3 separate regions of the Homo sapiens genome follow, and regions 1 and 3 are each linked to region 2. The links are contacts of gene promoters, found by promoter capture Hi-C in blood cells and fetal thymus (Javierre and others, 2016). All regions are on one chromosome and are shown on one strand. Each heading gives the region's core, a stretch centred on a gene start or on the middle of the fragment in contact. The rest is flanking DNA. Distances are from core to core; before and after follow the strand shown.

The links. Contacts are between HindIII fragments. The CHiCAGO score rates a contact against its expected background, and 5 or more counts as called.
Region 1: a contact is called between a fragment that was not itself captured here and the fragment with the promoter of FTX in region 2, in 1 of 17 cell types (naive CD8 T cells). The highest score is 6.1, in naive CD8 T cells.
Region 3: a contact is called between a fragment that was not itself captured here and the fragment with the promoter of FTX in region 2, in 1 of 17 cell types (M0 macrophages). The highest score is 6.7, in M0 macrophages.

The regions. Positions count from the first base shown.
Region 1 is chrX:73,211,193-73,215,233 of GRCh38, forward strand. It overlaps NAP1L2 (nucleosome assembly protein 1 like 2), which reads right to left and starts at 3,659. Exons shown (of 1, transcript NM_021963.4): 1 at 1,107-3,659. The coding sequence starts at 3,300. The coding sequence ends at 1,918. The HindIII fragment of the contact is 511 bases long and covers 1,963-2,473 here.
Region 2 is chrX:74,292,027-74,295,600 of GRCh38, forward strand. FTX (FTX transcript, XIST regulator) reads right to left here and starts at 1,548. Exons shown (of 7, transcript NR_028379.1): 1 at 1,326-1,548. It overlaps LOC124905199 (a long non-coding RNA gene), which reads right to left and starts at 570. Exons shown (of 2, transcript XR_007068266.1): 1 at 1-570. RefSeq lists an enhancer at 12-802. The HindIII fragment of the contact is 8,135 bases long and covers 643-3,574 here.
Region 3 is chrX:76,155,521-76,159,272 of GRCh38, forward strand. No RefSeq gene overlaps it. Among named protein-coding and RNA genes, the nearest start is that of PBDC1, 16 kb to the right of the region's middle. The HindIII fragment of the contact is 4,234 bases long and covers 346-3,752 here.

The DNA.
Region 1 (4,041 bases), core at 968-3,467, 1.1 Mb before region 2:
AATAAGTCTATACTTACCAGGCATACATAGAAAGTATCTCCTTATTTAGATTTCCTTATAATAGTAAGTTGTCTGTTTCCCCATATCCTGTCAACTATTGCAACCACAGGGAAAAGCAGGGAACATCTACCCCGTCTTTGGGAGAAAGATTTAACATTAGAGGAGAGTCCTGTACAGACAGGAAAAGGAAAGAAAAAGCTCATAATTTCTTCCTCAGTTGATTGTAGAGAGGTATGAAACAGAAATATGAAAAGTTGGCACTGCTATAAACTTACCTGTCTGGGTCAAGATCTGAAGGAGGAGGCATGTTTAATAGTGGAAGAATAAGTCACAGACAGAACTTCTGCTCCACTTTTGGTTTATATTTGTGCAAGATCACATCCATCCAACCACCTGGGATGGAAGAGTGGATAGGCAGCAATAAAGAGACAGAGTTAGCATTTCCTAGTCACTCTCAGTTCCCACGTGGCATGGAGGGGACCAAGAAGTTCTCTCTTGTACTAGAGGTATGAATGTGACCTTTTCAGAGTCTGCCAAAGGGAGAAGCAAAGCCTGTTTCCACATGCAAGAAAGGCAAAGTCAGCTCTGGGACAAGGGTCTGATCAACCACATCCCATTTTCCTGAATCAGGGCACTGCACTCCAAGCCCAGCCACAATTAGTAATGCAATCCCATATATATCCAGATGACACTGTGGAAGGGTAGGCAAGAAATATGAAATACAAACTAACACACAGGAACCTGTTATTTCAAAAGGGTGCTTAAATTATTAAATAGCACTGAGATTACTGGATTGATTAGAATTGAGAATTTTGTTTCCCTGCAACCTTGTGTAGTGAAAGTAGACTTGAGATTATGAACAGATCAATTATAAACACTAAGAAAGGTATACTTTCTTTGCACATTTTAGTATAGTCTTAGTAAATCTGCATGCGTGTATAAACATATAGAAATATAATTGTAGAAAATAAATCAAAACATTAACAGTGCTTATTTTGGGGTAGGTGGGTGGTATATGGATTTTGTGTTTAATTAATGAATTTTTTCAGTATTGCCCAAATGTCCCCCAATGAACATATTACTTTTATAACAAGAAATACATTAAGTTTTAAACATGAGACACTCTGAAATTTTTATTCTTTTTATTTTGCAGTGAAAGAACACGAAATATCTTTTCAAAATGGTAAAGTGATCACTTTCAATGAATGATGTAATAGGAAAAGAGAATTAAACACTGTAATTATGGCTTACACAATTACACAGAACAATATGTGCAAACTTTTGAAAATACTGTGACTAACACTTCACCGACAAACAATAACCTCAATATAACTAAGTTTCATTATTTATCACAGTTACATAAAATACAAGAGCCTATGAACAAGCTGTTATTAACAATAAATGTAGTTTTGCCTGAAATTCTTATCTATATGCAGGCCTCTTAAGCATCCAAGTTTTAAATTCTACTGCATTGTTATTGCAAAATGAAGCAGGCACAACAAAATTAAATCCACTAGCTAAAGGACTAAGTAAACAAAAATAGAAAAAGAAAAACAACAACAGCGAAAACCCTTGGGTTGTTTCCCAAGATTTTTTTTCCAAACAAATATTGATCTCACTTAGCATTTCTGATCATTTCATAGCCACAGATTAATAGCTACATGACAAAAAGACTTCAGAAGGATTAAGCTACACAACACTATACTAGTGTTTTAAATCATTTACCACAGTGTACATTTCTTGAAAACATTCTACTACTAAAACTCAAGGTCAAATTAATTAGTTTTTGAACTTTTCTTATATTTTTGAAACATATGTTTTAACTAACACTACAAGAAAAATACAGAACACAAGGCTTCTTATACCTTGAGTAACTATATCTAGGGCAGTTAATTTCAGGGCCATGTATACTCTGCTCTAACGATCAATGTCTTCTACTAATGCCTCAAGGTTTTTGCAACAAGCTTTAACTTCCTCAATTGCAGCCATCCAATTATCATAAATAATTTTGTCATAAATTGCATCATTAACTTCTCTAACTACCCCCTCCTGCTGAGATTCCAGTGCATCACCTGAGAAAAATAATACTGATCTTGGAATTATGTAAGTACGTAAATTGTGACCAAGTAAAAAATCATCATTTCCATCCCTTCCATTTGAGGTGATTCCATGAGGAGAGAAAAAATTGAAAAATGAATCCTTGGGAAAATCTTCAGTTACAGTTCGGATTGTTCCCCAGATCCGATGTTTCTGTTTCTTCTTGATGGTTTTCAAAGTGACATTCTTTCCTTCATTCCAATCTATCTCACAGCCTGTGGAATACTCAATCGCAGTTCCCCTATAGGGATGGGGATCATAATATGCTAGCTTTGACTTCAGCACATAGGTCTTTGTCAACAACTCATTTTTGAAATATTCATTGGGTTTGAAGTGAAATTCTAGTGTGAAACTGAGGGGCTCGCCAGGATCTGAAAGCTTAACTTTAATATCTGTCAGGAGCTTCAGAATAGGCTCATCATATTTCTTAATCAAAGGAGTGAGTGTATCAACGTTTTTTAAAACAGTTAGCCAAAAATCAGGAATTCCCTTAGGATCCTCCTCTTCTTTATTCTCTTCTCCAGTAGCCTCAATGTCGTCCTCCTCCTCCTCCTCCTCCTCCTCTTCCACAGCATAATCATAATAATAGTCCTCATAACCATCGTCCTCATCCACATATTCATGTACCATACCCTCCTCATTACCATACATCTCTTCATGACACATTTCCTCATCATCACAGTCCTCAGAGTCTGATTTATATTCACATTCCTCTTCTGTAGGTTCATAGATTGCATTGATGATCTGACGTCTTTTTTCCAGTAAGGGTTGGTACATTTCAGCAAACTTTCTTTCAATGTCATGAAATTCCCTCAGGAATTTGGATTCTAAATTGGCCGCTCTAGTTTGAAGCTTTTTAAGGGCTAACACACGGTACTTAACTTTCACAGGTAGACTTTCAACAAAGTCTGTATCTAAAACATAACCGATAAGTCCTTTTGGACGGTCTGCCTCTGAGTCCTCATCAGTATCGCCACCTTTTTTCCCATCTTCCCCGGACCCAGCAGCAGTATCTTCACCGTTTTCCCCTTCTTCCCCAAGCCCAGCGGCAGCTTCTTCACCGCACTTCCCATCGTCTCCAAGCCCAGCAGCGGCATCTTCACCGCGCTCCAGATGTTCCCCGAGCCCTTCCACCATTATCTGATTACCAGCCTCTTCTTGACTGGATTCTGACAGCTCCTTGCGGTTCTCTGACTCGGCCATTTTTCAAAGGACCGTACACGCCTAAGGTGGCTACCACAGAGATCGGGAGACCAAACCTCCACAGGAAAAGACTCACCGAAATATCAGAAGCGGCGGTGGTCGGACCTAGCAGTGGCGTCCGGACTGAGGGAACGACGATCCAGGCTGCTCGGGGATAAAAGATGGTGCTGAGGCTTTGAGAACCGGACTGAAGCAGTGGCGACCTGGGCTGGGTGCAGAGGGCGGCGACGGCTGCGTTGACCGATCCTGCAGGAGAGAGCCGGAGACTGCAGAGAGCTGCAGTGGGCAGACCTCCTCCGCAAGCAGCTACTGCTGCAAGAAAAAAACGGTGCCGCAGTATGATTACGCAGCTATCACTTGCCTAAAATTTCTAGGTGCAAATAGATTGCTGCGTCACCTCCTTCCCTCCCACAACTATGCTCTAATCTCATTTGCTGCAATGTAGTGACTGACAAACCCAGAGCCAGTAAATTATTAGATCTATCAAGTTTTCAACTCTGCTCACCTTCCCAGGCTCTCTAACATGGCTGATTCATCCACCTCCTCCTCGTCCTCTAGCCCATCTCCCGCAGAGTTTTCTGGAATCCCATTGCGTTCATTAGTTCATTCATCCAACTTTTAACAGATATTATACTTTTATGCTTTCCAGAGAGCTCAGAGAAAACGTAACTAAAATGTCGAACAATGAGAGAAGACAAGGCACCCACCCATCCTAAATCAATCTCTTTGATTTTAGATCGG
Region 2 (3,574 bases), core at 298-2,797:
AAGCCAGAGAGCCCTCCGAATGCGTACTGCCCAAATGTGGCCTGTCTCCAAGTGCTCCCTTTTTACGCATTTCCTACGCACCGCCAGCTGCCGCAACCTTTTGCAGAGTCATCATCGCCTCCTCATTTTTGTACCCACTTACCGATAGGCCACTGAGAGGCTAAGATTCTGGGTTAATTTCTAGTGGATCTGGCCACAGCATAGGAGAACTCCAACTCAGGTTGATCCCTTCACTCAGCTAAAAAGGTAGTTCTCTGCAAGGCCTGCTAGCCCAAGATGGCCAAGCAAAGACAGCTTACCTCCCCCCTCGCCATTTTGCAACCTTAATTACCCGAATGCTGAGCGCCTCCCCTCCCCGGCACTCCGTCTGAAATACGCATGCGCGCCGCTTCCTCCTTACCGTTCTCCCCAACCATCCAGATGTTGTCTCAAATATGCATGAGCGCCACCTCTACCTCCCAAACGCTGGTACCAACTCCTAGCAACTTTGCGTTGTTAAATATGCCTGCGAGTCCTTCACTTCCCGACCTTCCAACCCTCCAACCCCGACGCCATTCAAGCCTTGCGCATGCGTGCCTCCCTCTCCCCACCCCCGCCCCACTGGAGCCCGTCCCCTTAACTCAGGTCTTCTCAAATACTGTAAGCTTGAGCGCCGCCCCTCGGCGCCGCGCCTCCTCATCCAGCCTCTCAAATACCCTGCGCACCGCGATAGTCCTCTCTCTTCTTGCTCCCATTTGTATACAGTATGCATGCCTGATGCTATCTGGACGTGTTTCTCGCCACAATTCTGCCCCAGTGCCCAAGGAGAGCCATTACCAGCCTTCCCTAATGCGAGTAGATGCGATAAACTAGGGAAGTTGAATCGGGGAAAGAAGGCGTTGCAGGTGATCAGAGTGAATCCCAGATCTAGATGGAATCGGTCCCAACTCCAAGGGAGGGGGCTAGAGTACCCCAGGATTCACATAAGACCGGTCAACCTGAACAAAGGCAAGGAAAACTTTCACAAACCATCGGATGAACATAATCCTAAGGCCTCGCCCTTTAAATACATCTGCTACAAATGACGAACCACAAATGTTTTAAACAGGGAACATTATGGAAAACACCGATGCTCAGGTGCCTTGACTCTAGTTAGAGGAAAGGAACCCGCATTCCTTTCACAATGGGAAGCAAATGCTCAACATCCTTTTGGAAAACTGGGGCCTGTAACGTATTCCATTTTTTCCTCCCGTGAACTGGAAAAATGCACAAATTAAGGATCTTCCTGGCCCAAGTTCCCTCCGCCGCCCTCCATGTTCTGTTCTTCCCCTACATCGTTCCTTTACCTCCTGGTTGAATTCAGTGTCGTAGCAGGAATTCTTAGAGCTGGCCGTCCCAAGATGGGGTGGAGAGAGCGGCATGAAAGAGAGAGAGAGAGAGAGACACGCCTGAATGGCAGCAGCAGGCCTTAGCGGCAATGGACAGCAGGCACAGGACCAGCTTTGCCTCGAGCCGCAACGCTGATGCCAGAAAAGGACAACCTCTCCAGAATCGCCGCAGTGTGCTTCCAGCGCATGCGCTGCTAACGCCCCTTAACCCCCCCTCCGCGCCCCGCCTCCCCCACGCGCCGCTCTCCAGCCTCTAGGAGTCTAACCCTTAGCGGTCCACCGACCTCCTTCACTTCTTTCCCAGGACGCTATCCCACTCTGCTTCTTCCACCTTTCCCCTCCCCTCGGTCACACTGGCCTCCACCATCATCCCTCCCTCAGCCCATACTTCTTTCGTCAATCCCTCTCCCATTATTCTTAGCCCACCATCTACCTTTATTTCCTCTGCTATCGTTAGTGGTCTACCCTTCAATTCTTCACTTTCCCTGCCAGTCTGCAGCCCTCTTGGGCCTCTTACTCCTCTCCTCCTATGCCTGATGTTGAAATTTGTAAAAATTACCGCAAAAATTTTTTTTTAAATAATTGTAGCCCGGGCGCGGTGGCTCACACCTGTAATCCCAGCACTTTGGGAGGCCGAGGTGGACGGAACCCTTGAGTTCAGGAGTTCGAGACCAGCTCGGGTGACATGGCGAAACCCCGTCTCTACAAATAAATACAAAAATTAGCCGGGCGTGGTGGTGCGCACCTGTACTCCCAGCTATTCAGAAGGCTGAGGTGGAAGAATCACTCGAGCCCAGGAAGTCGAGGCTACAGTGAGCTATGATTGTGCCAGCTATGATGTTGCCAGCCTGGGCAACAGAGTGAGACCCCATCTCAAAAAAAGAAAAAAAATATTTCCACACATCCTCTCCAAAGCAGCTCTCAGGGTGAGCTCAACCAGCCTGTCTTGGGCAAAGAGAACACCTTTTTGATGATGACCCACAGGGAAGATCCAGAGACAGGGAACCAGAACAAAAACTGCAAAAGTGTTCAATCAATTTGGGGGTAAGAGGCAGTAGACCACCAACATGGAAAGCTCTTTTCTTTCTATTCACAACCCTGGTATTGTCTGGACATTAAAAATGAGATTCAATGTCCTTCACTGCTTACTACAAGGCCTGTTCTTGTCTTCTGTAAGAACTCAAATATTAATTTTGAGGGAAATGGCATTATTTACTTAAGAGGCTCTGAAATAGATCCCTCTTTGGGTGTGAACTAGAAAGAATACAAAATAATATTTTGTTTCTCTTTATTATGTTTTACTTTGGTGTCTGGTTCTTATTGCTTTCTAAAAGAGCCAGTTTGGAAATACCAAAAACTGAGACCCGCAAATTCATAAATCCTAAAACTCATAAACTTATACATCACCATCCTCTCAAATTAACTTAAGAATGTTATATCAACATTATTCAGAGAAAAATGGGTTTGCATTTGTTATATAATACGCCCAAAAAATTATACAACAATGTGCATATGAAGAAGAAAAAAGAGAAATAGGCATGCATTAAATAAAAAAGAAATGCCGAAATCTCAGTGGTACAAAGAACCTCTTCTAAATTAAAATAATCATTTATTATTACACAAAAGTTAAAATATAAGAAATTTTACCCCAAATTCTACAACACTATTTTAACAAATGCTCTTATCTCTGTTATTTTTCTGTTTTAATGGTTTTATTAATATATAATTTACATATCATACAGTTAACCAACTTAAAGTGTACAATGCAATGGATTTTAGTATATTCACAGAATTATGCAGCCACCACTACAATCAATTTTAGAATATTTTCATCACCCCAAAAAGAAACTTCATACCCATTAGTATTGTCTTAGTCCATTATGTACCACTGTAACAAAATACTGCAGACTCGGCAATTTATAAAGAACAGAAATTTATTTCCTCACAGTTCTGGAGAATGGGAAGTCCAAGACTGAGGAGCTGGCATCTGACAGTGGCTTTCCTGCTACATCATCCCATGGTGGAAGGGCAAAGAGATAGAGAAAGAGAGAGTGCGCGCAAGAGGGGGCCAGAACTCATCCTTTAATAAGGAACCCACTACTGAAATAACAAACCCACTCCCTCAATAATAGCATTAAGCTATTCATAAGAGTGGTGCCCCCATGACTCAAACACCTCCCTTTAAGCCTCACCTCCCAACACCACCA
Region 3 (3,752 bases), core at 1,213-3,712, 1.9 Mb after region 2:
ACAAGGGGTTGATGGGTGCAGCAAACCACCATGGCACATGTATACCATATCACAAACCTGCATGTTCTGCACAGGTATCCCAGAACTTAATGTAAAATAAAATAAAATAAAGAAAGAAAAAATAAAAGGAAAGAAAAATCCTGCCTATTGGGCTCATTTATAGAACCACTTGAAAACCGCCCTTGTCAAGTAAAAATTTTCCAACAAGTAACCCCTTAGAAATGCAGCCTTCTTGTATACACATTATAGGATTTCATCAGTGTACAGGTGCACCAGGTGGCCTTGGGGTAAAGATAGATTAAAGATCATAAATAATTATCTGCATTTCAGTGTTAAGGCCCAGAAAGCTTCCCTTGCTTCCTTTTACCTCAGTGAATGCCCTCAGGCAATGCTTCTGGAGCCAGCTTACTCAATCTTTTCTCACCAGTAATGCCAGCCCTTCATTCCAGATTTTGTTGTTATATTTAACCCACCATATGCACTTGAAATCCTTACTTGAGAAAACTTGGAAAGTAGGGGAAGGTTTTCACAATAAATGAAAAAGTTGCCATAATTCTACAACCAATGTATAATGACTCTTAGTTCTTTAGTTTACTTCCCAATTGACTCTTTTCTATGGGAGTAAAATAATGTTGTATGCATGCTACTATGATGATATTAAATGGTGTCACTTGCTACATTTCAGGTATTGTTGGGTATGTGTGGTTACTATCATAAATGACTTTCCTGTTTTCTTTCGCCCACCCATCTTTCACAGAAAAAGATACTTAATATCAAAGTTAATCAGGTAATAAAAATTTTAATCATGGTGAGATACTATTTCTTTTCTATCAGATAACTCTTTGATTTGGGGACTAAAAAGGGTACTAGAAAATGACATCCTTAGGAAGTAATATCCGGGAAGCTCAGCTTGGCCAACTACGTAACACTGTGGCTATTTGAGGAAAGTGGTGATTTTGAAGAGAGGACTACATTGCCTTCTCAGGTGTGTCTCCTTTGCCCAGCTCCCATGGGATCAAATATGAATCCAGTGAGGGCTGCAAGTTATATTTATGAGTTCAGAAACAGTGCAAGTCACTTGGCACAGCCTAAATAACTCCATCTGAAAGCAGTTGGTCAGTGCAACTGGTGGGCCGGTGGTCAAAACAAAGGTTACTCTTGTGCCACCAGCACCAAGGAGCCATTCTTAGAGATGTCTGGTTATTCCTTGGTCCAGAGCCCTGAATTATCCTGTAGATGTGTCTGAATCAGAACAGAGTAAATACCAAGTTAGCAGGAAAAGCTCATCACTACTCTCATTCCTATCTCTCCTCTGGCTGCTCACCTAGTGAGCTCTGCAGCAATATGCTTAGTAGCCCCAGCCAGGGTGTGATGGCCACCAATGTTATCACCAGGCTTAGACAGAGGAAGGCTTGATGTTATATTCTGACATACAGTGCCATATCCTTACCTGAGAATGGAATGGAATGACAAAGGAGATCTGAATTATGGGTGTGAGAAAAGTTTCAGACAATTCTGAGTGAAAAATTAGTCCAATTCCTAAATGACCAAATTGTTCTGATTAGTTAGAAAAAAAGCACAACGGAGGCAGAAACTTTTCTACATTTCTAGCTGAGAAAATTTAAAGATGGGGCTTGAATTACCAAGTGTTAATAGTATTTAAAAATGTTTTATGTTTCTATGAAAAATTGCTCTGTGACTATAAGAAAGTAAAACAAGAAAGAAGGAAGAAAGGAAGCATTGAGACAGAGTAAACAAAGCCAATGAAGGGAAGGAGAAAACAGGGACGATATATAGAGAAAAAGCATGGGCTCAGTTCATTTTCCTCTTTAAAATCCAGAGCTACCTGCCTCTAAAGTTCAAAGTCTTGTCTATAACATCCTGGTGTTGTGCTTTCTGAGTGGGGCTTTCAGAACTTCCCTTGGGGAAAGCCTATGATGCACTGCAAAGAGATGGGCATGTCTGAGGTCAGTGCACATCCAGTGTGATAGCCCCAACTCACCACAGTATCAAGGAGTTGCAGCTGGACCCACAAGTACTAGGGCTAACATATGCCTATTTCTCCCCCATGCTCAACCTAGGTATCTCCCTTAGCAGATGTGGAGCAAAATAACCTTTGCAGAAAATAATCTTAGAGCTTAAACCTGAGCTATGTCTGGAAAGTCCATGGCATTCTGAATAATCTATAATTTACTGAGCATTTGCTGTATTCTAGTCCCTGTGCTAAGAGCTCATACATTCATGTCTTATATAATTCCATCATTGAAATAAGCACATAAGTCAAATGTGTCTGTAATCTTCACTTTCAAAGTGAAGAAGCCAAGACTCTGCATTTAAGAGACTTGCCTAAGTTCACATAGATAATAAAACTCAGTTACCTCCGAAATAAAAGATGACATAACTTTAACCACAAACCATCATGGCCCTGAAACTATGAGAGTAAGGTTGGTAACTTCCAAGGAGGAGGTGAATTTAAATCTATCCTGATTCCAGATCATTTGTACTGCCCCTGGTATAGTTGGAGAGGTGTCACTCTTTTTCTTTTTCTTTTCTCTCTCTCTCTCTCTTTTTTTTTTTTTTTTTTTTTTTGAGATTGGGTCTCACTCTGTCACCCAGGCTGAAGTGCAGTGGCATGATCTTGGTTCACTGCAACCTCCACCTCCCAGGCTCAGGTGATCCTCCCGCCTCAGCCTCCCACGTAGCTGGAACCACCACGCCCAGCTAATTTTTTGTATTGTTAGTAGAGACGGAGTTTTGCCCTGTTGCCCAGGCTGGTCTCGAACTCCTGAGCTCAAGCGATCCACCCATCCTGGCCTCCCAAACTGCTGGGATTACAGGCATGAACCACCACACCCGACCCACTCTTTTTCTTAAATGCATTCATGCACATGCATATGTACATATGTGCACACACATACTCATATACTAACACAGACTGGTATGGGACAGTCTGAGTCTTATGTGATCCATACTCAGCAGTTAACAATAATTATTTCTGTACCCTTACCTATGGAAGACATTCAATCAAAAGTGGCAATTGCTAAGGTTTTCATGGGAACTTAATGTGTCAGGAGATTTTAACCTTAACCTTAAGATGTATTCACTTCAGGAGTCAAGCGCCTTCCAGCATGGTCACAGGATAGTTTTCATGTCTTTGTCTTCCAGTAATGCTTTGAATGTATTGTCATTAATCCATTCATGCAACAAAAAGTCATGGCACTCCTCTAATATGTGTCAGCCACTGTGCTATTCCTTGGAATCACTATCATTATAATTACTACTGTCTTTTTTTTTTTTTTGGTAATGGTCAGTTTTAGTATAACAATATATCTCACTAGGATGAGTGCATTATAAGAGGGTACTGTGCATTTTTCATCACTACATGTCTAGGTCTTAGACACATATGGACATAGCTCTGAGTAGGCGATCAACAAATATGGGGGATTAAATGACAAATTTCATGGGGTATATAGCGTATGTAAGAAATAAGGAACACTGGAGCCCTGGCTGGCAAGATGGCCAAATAAGAACACCTCCAGTCTGCAGCTCCCAGCGAGATCAATGCAGAAGGTGGGTGATTTTTACATTTCCCACTAAGGTACCCAGTTCATCTCACTGGGACTGGTTGAACAGTGGGTGCAGCCCAAGGAGGGTGAGCCAAAGCAGAGTGGGGTGTTGCCTCACCAGGGAAGCGCAAGGGGTCCGGGAGCTCCCTCTCCTAGCCAAGGGAAGTCATTAGGGACTGTACTTTG